Regions from separate parts of the Homo sapiens genome. Here region 2 is linked to region 1. The links are contacts of gene promoters, found by promoter capture Hi-C in blood cells and fetal thymus (Javierre and others, 2016). All regions are on one chromosome and are shown on one strand. Each heading gives the region's core, a stretch centred on a gene start or on the middle of the fragment in contact. The rest is flanking DNA. Distances are from core to core; before and after follow the strand shown.

Evidence for each region. Contacts are between HindIII fragments. The CHiCAGO score rates a contact against its expected background, and 5 or more counts as called.
Region 2: a fragment that was not itself captured here is called in contact with the fragment with the promoter of IL6 in region 1 in 6 of 17 cell types (monocytes, M2 macrophages, M0 macrophages and 3 more); the score reaches 7.6 in monocytes.

Annotation. Positions count from the first base shown.
Region 1 is chr7:22,725,248-22,729,341 of GRCh38, forward strand. It overlaps IL6 (interleukin 6), which reads left to right and starts at 1,953. Exons shown (of 5, transcript NM_000600.5): 1 at 1,953-2,034; 2 at 2,197-2,387; 3 at 3,446-3,559. The coding sequence starts at 2,016. It overlaps IL6-AS1 (IL6 antisense RNA 1), which reads right to left and starts at 2,373. Exons shown (of 2, transcript NR_131935.1): 1 at 2,321-2,373; 2 at 148-1,458. RefSeq lists a silencer at 1,368-1,417 and an enhancer at 1,403-2,602. The HindIII fragment of the contact is 10,105 bases long and covers 1-3,710 here.
Region 2 is chr7:22,544,220-22,548,313 of GRCh38, forward strand. No RefSeq gene overlaps it. Among named protein-coding and RNA genes, the nearest start is that of STEAP1B-AS1, 17 kb to the right of the region's middle. The HindIII fragment of the contact is 3,477 bases long and covers 659-4,094 here.

The DNA of each region.
Region 1 (4,094 bases), core at 703-3,202:
CCTTTCCCAGGCTAGGATAACAGAGGATTTGGTTGAAAATACAGGCAATTAGGTGCTACCTCTGGGAAAAGGGGCCAGGAGAGGAAGGAGACACTTTTCCCTGCATGCCCTGATGTCCTATTTGAACATTTTATCATGAACACGAACTTCCTATTTAAAAAACACTTTTTATTGAAAAGATAAATCTGTGTGTTGTATTGTGTCACTCAGTTCAAGTACTTGAAATTTATTGAATTGTATTTTCTAAAAAATAGATAGTTGAGTAAAAGCAAGCTCACATTACATAGACGGATCACAGTGCACGGCTGCGGAGCTGGGAGCAGTGGCTTCGTTTCATGCAGGAAAGAGAACTTGGTTCAGGAGTGTCTACGTTGCTTAAGACAGGAGAGCACTAAAAATGAAACCATCCAGCCATCCTCCCCCATTTTCATTTTCACACCAAAGAATCCCACCGCGGCAGAGGACCACCGTCTCTGTTTAGACAATCGGTGAAGAATGGATGACCTCACTTTCCCCAACAGGCGGGTCCTGAAATGTTATGCACGAAACAAAACTTGAGTAAATGCCCAACAGAGGTCACTGTTTTATCGATCTTGAAGAGATCTCTTCTTAGCAAAGCAAAGAAACCGATTGTGAAGGTAACACCATGTTTGGTAAATAAGTGTTTTGGTGTTGTGCAAGGGTCTGGTTTCAGCCTGAAGCCATCTCAGAGCTGTCTGGGTCTCTGGAGACTGGAGGGACAACCTAGTCTAGAGCCCATTTGCATGAGACCAAGGATCCTCCTGCAAGAGACACCATCCTGAGGGAAGAGGGCTTCTGAACCAGCTTGACCCAATAAGAAATTCTTGGGTGCCGACGCGGAAGCAGATTCAGAGCCTAGAGCCGTGCCTGCGTCCGTAGTTTCCTTCTAGCTTCTTTTGATTTCAAATCAAGACTTACAGGGAGAGGGAGCGATAAACACAAACTCTGCAAGATGCCACAAGGTCCTCCTTTGACATCCCCAACAAAGAGGTGAGTAGTATTCTCCCCCTTTCTGCCCTGAACCAAGTGGGCTTCAGTAATTTCAGGGCTCCAGGAGACCTGGGGCCCATGCAGGTGCCCCAGTGAAACAGTGGTGAAGAGACTCAGTGGCAATGGGGAGAGCACTGGCAGCACAAGGCAAACCTCTGGCACAGAGAGCAAAGTCCTCACTGGGAGGATTCCCAAGGGGTCACTTGGGAGAGGGCAGGGCAGCAGCCAACCTCCTCTAAGTGGGCTGAAGCAGGTGAAGAAAGTGGCAGAAGCCACGCGGTGGCAAAAAGGAGTCACACACTCCACCTGGAGACGCCTTGAAGTAACTGCACGAAATTTGAGGATGGCCAGGCAGTTCTACAACAGCCGCTCACAGGGAGAGCCAGAACACAGAAGAACTCAGATGACTGGTAGTATTACCTTCTTCATAATCCCAGGCTTGGGGGGCTGCGATGGAGTCAGAGGAAACTCAGTTCAGAACATCTTTGGTTTTTACAAATACAAATTAACTGGAACGCTAAATTCTAGCCTGTTAATCTGGTCACTGAAAAAAAATTTTTTTTTTTTCAAAAAACATAGCTTTAGCTTATTTTTTTTCTCTTTGTAAAACTTCGTGCATGACTTCAGCTTTACTCTTTGTCAAGACATGCCAAAGTGCTGAGTCACTAATAAAAGAAAAAAAGAAAGTAAAGGAAGAGTGGTTCTGCTTCTTAGCGCTAGCCTCAATGACGACCTAAGCTGCACTTTTCCCCCTAGTTGTGTCTTGCCATGCTAAAGGACGTCACATTGCACAATCTTAATAAGGTTTCCAATCAGCCCCACCCGCTCTGGCCCCACCCTCACCCTCCAACAAAGATTTATCAAATGTGGGATTTTCCCATGAGTCTCAATATTAGAGTCTCAACCCCCAATAAATATAGGACTGGAGATGTCTGAGGCTCATTCTGCCCTCGAGCCCACCGGGAACGAAAGAGAAGCTCTATCTCCCCTCCAGGAGCCCAGCTATGAACTCCTTCTCCACAAGTAAGTGCAGGAAATCCTTAGCCCTGGAACTGCCAGCGGCGGTCGAGCCCTGTGTGAGGGAGGGGTGTGTGGCCCAGGGAGGGCTGGCGGGCGGCCAGCAGCAGAGGCAGGCTCCCAGCTGTGCTGTCAGCTCACCCCTGCGCTCGCTCCCCTCCGGCACAGGCGCCTTCGGTCCAGTTGCCTTCTCCCTGGGGCTGCTCCTGGTGTTGCCTGCTGCCTTCCCTGCCCCAGTACCCCCAGGAGAAGATTCCAAAGATGTAGCCGCCCCACACAGACAGCCACTCACCTCTTCAGAACGAATTGACAAACAAATTCGGTACATCCTCGACGGCATCTCAGCCCTGAGAAAGGAGGTGGGTAGGCTTGGCGATGGGGTTGAAGGGCCCGGTGCGCATGCGTTCCCCTTGCCCCTGCGTGTGGCCGGGGGCTGCCTGCATTAGGAGGTCTTTGCTGGGTTCTAGAGCACTGTAGATTTGAGGCCAACGGGGCCGACTAGACTGACTTCTGTATTTATCCTTTGCTGGTGTCAGGAAGTTCCTTTCCTTTCTGGAAAATGCAGAATGGGTCTGAAATCCATGCCCACCTTTGGCATGAGCTGAGGGTTATTGCTTCTCAGGGCTTCCTTTTCCCTTTCCAAAAAATTAGGTCTGTGAAGCTCCTTTTTGTCCCCCGGGCTTTGGAAGGACTAGAAAAGTGCCACCTGAAAGGCATGTTCAGCTTCTCAGAGCAGTTGCAGTACTTTTTGGTTATGTAAACTCAATGGCTAGGATTCCTCAAAGCCATTCCAGCTAAGATTCATACCTCAGAGCCCACCAAAGTGGCAAATCATAAATAGGTTAAAGCATCTCCCCACTTTCAATGCAAGGTATTTTGGTCCTGTTTGGTAGAAAGAAAAGAACACAGGAGGGGAGATTGGGAGCCCACACTCGAATTCTGGTTCTGCCAAACCAGCCTTGTGATCTTGGGTAAATTCCCTACCACCTCTGGACTCCATCAGTAAAATTGGGCGTGGACTAGGTGATCTCATAGATCCTTCCTGCTGGAACATTCTATGGCTTGAATTATATTCTCCTAATTATTGTCAAAATTGCTGTTATTAAGTATCTACTGTGTGCCAGGCACTTTAAATAAATATTGTGTCTAATCTTCAAAACAAATTTGCAAGGAAGGTTTTTGGAGATAAGGAAACTGAGACTCAGGATTAAGTAACACACCTAAAGTCACAGGTGAGCTTGGAACTGAACCCAAGTGTGCCCCCACTCCACTGGAATTTGCTTGCCAGGATGCCAATGAGTTGTAGCTTCATTTTTCTTAGAGACTTTCCTGGCTGTGGTTGAACAATGAAAAGGCCCTCTAGTGGTGTTTGTTTTAGGGACACTTAGGTGATAACAATTCTGGTATTCTTTCCCAGACATGTAACAAGAGTAACATGTGTGAAAGCAGCAAAGAGGCACTGGCAGAAAACAACCTGAACCTTCCAAAGATGGCTGAAAAAGATGGATGCTTCCAATCTGGATTCAATGAGGTACCAACTTGTCGCACTCACTTTTCACTATTCCTTAGGCAAAACTTCTCCCTCTTGCATGCAGTGCCTGTATACATATAGATCCAGGCAGCAACAAAAAGTGGGTAAATGTAAAGAATGTTATGTAAATTTCATGAGGAGGCCAACTTCAAGCTTTTTTAAAGGCAGTTTATTCTTGGACAGGTATGGCCAGAGATGGTGCCACTGTGGTGAGATTTTAACAACTGTCAAATGTTTAAAACTCCCACAGGTTTAATTAGTTCATCCTGGGAAAGGTACTCTCAGGGCCTTTTCCCTCTCTGGCTGCCCCTGGCAGGGTCCAGGTCTGCCCTCCCTCCCTGCCCAGCTCATTCTCCACAGTGAGATAACCTGCACTGTCTTCTGATTATTTTATAAAAGGAGGTTCCAGCCCAGCATTAACAAGGGCAAGAGTGCAGGAAGAACATCAAGGGGGACAATCAGAGAAGGATCCCCATTGCCACATTCTAGCATCTGTTGGGCTTTGGATAAAACTAATTACATGGGGCCTCTGATT
Region 2 (4,094 bases), core at 1,147-3,646, 180 kb before region 1:
AGTATATCTTCTGAGATTCAGGATCTAACATTGGCTCTAAAACCTGGGAGTGATGTTTTATTTGAAACCTGGACTCGATGGCTGTATTGGTTTTCTATCACCGCTGTGACAAATTACCACAAACGAAATGGCTTAAAACAACATATACTTATTATCTTACAGTTCTGGAGGTCAGAAGTCCAAAATGGGTCTCACTTAGCTAGAATGAAGGTGCCAGCAGGACTGCATTCCTTTCTGGAGGCTCTAGAGAAATACCTGTTTTCTTACTTCTTCCAGCATCTAGACATTGCCCATATTCCGTGGCTTGAGTCCCCTTCCTTCATCTTCAGGGTCAGCAATGGCCAGTTGAGTCTTTCTCCTGATGACAGCTCTTTGATTCTAGCTCTCCTGCCTCCTGCTTCTTCATTTAAGGAGTCTTGTGGTTACACTGGGACCACCTGCATAACTCCACGGATTAGCAGTCTTAATTCCGTCAGCTCCTATTCTGCCTACCACAGTAGCCTACAGCTAGAGTGCATTCCCAGAACCCCCCGCAAAGGCTTAGAGAAATAGGAACAGTAGAATGAATCTATTATGTGCAACCTGCTCAGCCCCCTCCCCAACCATCCCCATTCAACTGACCCCACTGGAGGATCCTGGAGTAATCTCCACACACAAAAGCTTTGAAAAACATATTGGAGATGGGCCAATCGCACAGAGTTCTTTGGAAAGCTCTGGATGGAACAGGTTCCCTGATATCAAGGAGAATAACACAATTCTGCTGTGGTAGAGCCCAGGTGGCACCACTTCCCCAATAGTGATATGGTGGCCATAATTACTACACTAAGCCTCGAGAACACAATGGTGCTGCAGGAATTTGTGGTTATGACTGATTATGGTGTCCTTAGAAATGGAATAAGCAGCAGGTAGCCTACTAAGCAGCTGGCTGCTTGACATGTATTGGAGAAAAAAAATAATTCATGGGCAGAAGTCTAAATCAAGTCATCCTAGGGAGATGCATAACCTCTTTCACAGACCTGGAGCCCTAGAATGAAGACCCTGCAAAGCAGTCATAGCGTATGATACGAATTTTCTCCCAAAGTTTTCCCAGAGCAAACAGTGGCCATTTACCCTGATAACTGTGATGTGGGAGAGGGGAATATACAAATCTCCCAGGAGTTATTAGATACTGTCTCTTAATTTACATGAGTCTTCAGAGACCACCTTGCAGTATGGGAGCTCCTGCAGATCAAGTGCTGAATCTTCCTTGCCCAAGTCCCTCTTATATTGGGTCCAACATGGACCCTCACTGTGATTATACCCTCAATTTCAGGGTGTGTAGAAAGAATAAACTTTGCAACTGGCAGAATGTCCGCACTGGTTCCCTGATCTGTGGAGTAGGGCTATTATAACTGGAAGGGCCAAATGAACTCTTCTGGAACTGACTTCTTTGCCAAAATTGTAAATCAAAAGCAACAGTGCATCCCTAGGGAGCTAGTACTCCGCACTTTGTGGCTAACCTAGGGGAATAGTCTGGACTGTAACCATTTGCCCTTCCTAGGGAGATAAGAAAAGTTTTATTATCCCTTTTGATCAGAGCAATTAATCAAACAAATGACTACAGACCTAATCCTCACAGTATATGAAAAGTAAAACATTGCTAGGAGAAGGCAAACATTCTTTATCTTTACATTATACACATTTCTGTGTCTCAGGAGGCTACAGCTTCTAGATAGGAGCACTGAGGAATCTAGGGGAGACTTATTTCTCCACAGGTACAAGTGGGGCCCCTCTTACCAGAACCACAGGACTGAGAATAAGAAATGATAGTCACTCCCAAAGCAAGATTTGGGGACTATTGGCAACATAAAAGGGAAATAGAGACTTGAAAGGCCACCAGAGAATGCCCACAATTTCAAGAAATCTCTCAAACCAAATCCAGCACCATATTGAATGGCAAAACCCTAGATATATAAATTCAGAAGCCCATATGGAATGCCCCCATCACTACCATGATTTAACATTACTCTGGAGGCTCTATTAATACAGTTAGACAAAAGAAACAAAATAAGGTTTAAACACTGGAAAGGAGGAAGCAGCGTTATTATTATTTGTAGATATCATTGAACTTCAAAAGAATCAACTGGGAAACTACCAACATTTAAAAGAATAATGCAAAGTGGCTAAATTACAATAATTAATCATTTTCCTACATATAAAAAGTAGACAGAAAACTAATGAAAGAAAAGAACCAATAGACAACAGCCACAAGAACAAAAACTAACATGAAATGTGCAGACCTTTAATAAAGAAAAATTTAAGTTTCCTCTGCAGTATAAAAGAAGACTGGTCTAAGGAAAATATCTTGTTCTTATACAAGAAACAAATAATGTAAAGATGTCAATTCTTCCCTATTAGTTTATAATTTAACTAAAATCCTAAGTTCATATGGAAAAATATACATGTAATAATAGACAGGAAATTATGAAACAAAAGAATAATGCAAAGAACTAACCCTACTACATATTAAAATGAATTATAAAGCTAAATAATTGAACAGTTCAGTGTTTAATAAGGAATTGTTAAGCCAATAAAAAATATAAAGTTAATAAACAGGCTCAAATACAAATGTGAATTTAGTGTCTGATAAAGCTGGCATTCCGAATCAGTGAGAAAAGAGATTAATCAACAAATGACATTAAGAAGACACTTCTTCCATTAGTTTTCTGTCTACTTTTTGTAGTAGAAAATTTATTAATTATTGTAATAAGCCACGTTGTCACCATCTCTTATTTTTTTTTTTAGCTTTCGTTTTTTAGTTTTTTCATTTGGAGTACAATGACACCTACAAATAATAATGTTGCCTCTTCTTTTTCACTGTTTAATTTGGGAAAAAATTGCTAGATCCCTGGCTTACTCTTTGCATGAAACTAACTCCTAATGAATAAAAACTTAAGTAAAGTCATAGGGGCACTGGATTAAAAATAACAATAACATTGATTGAGCACTTACCCTATGTCAGGCATTACCTCGCAATATCCCTGTATGATAGGTACAAATGACACATCTGAGTCCAGAGAAGTTAAGTTAGCCAAGATCACACAGCACGTGTGATTTAAACACAGGCAGCCTAACTCCAAAGCCCATACACTTAATCACTATGTCATATAGCCTCCCAATTCCAGGAGAAAATATGAAAGAATTTTTCTATACCTTAGGGAAAGGAAATGTTTTCAAAGTATCATCAAAAACTAGAAGCCACGAAGACAAAGGTTGACCATTTTGACTATATAAAAGTTAAAGTTTTTTGGATGAAAAAATTAAGTGAAAAGATAAAACAACTAAGAAAAAAGTCATTTGCAACACAGATGTCAGAGGACTCATTTACTTAACATATAAAGAGCAGCTGCAAATTAGTAAAAAACAAACAAACAAACAAACCTTCTGTACCATAGAAGATTGGGAAAGAAGCATAAATGGGAAAAGACACCTATATGGCTCATAATTAAAGAAATGAAATGATGACAATAGGAAACCACTCTCCTTTGCCTTGCACTTAAGCAAAATATTTTAAAGTTTTTAAAATTAAAAAAACACAAGATGTTAGCAAGGATGTGGAAAACATACATTAAAATATATCATGTAAATTGCAACAACCTCTTTTTAAAAATTCGGCAATACTCATAAAATGTAAAATGCACATAACCTTTGACACAATAGTTCACTTCTAAGAACCTATCCTCCACGATAATTGTACATGTGTAGAAAGAGACCACTGAAGCAATGACTTCGTTAGGCAAAAAACTGCAAGTAGTCTAAATGCCCATTATTTAGAGGACTGAGTGAAGTAGAAAAGTGTAAGCCAGAATACTTTGATTCATTCTTGGTTAAAACTACAGTTTGAAACTATGGACCACAAGTTTCAATGGTATTATGACAGCTTTGAATGAAAAAGTTGTAGATACAAGTGCTTTTGGTAGATACAAGTAGGGCTTCTGGTTAGCCATGATCCATTGTTTAGAAAGATTAGAGGGAAAAGTTAGAGAATATTTACCAACCAATTACTGCAACATTAAAATAAGTCTATACTTTTTTCTGTACCTTGTGCAGATGAA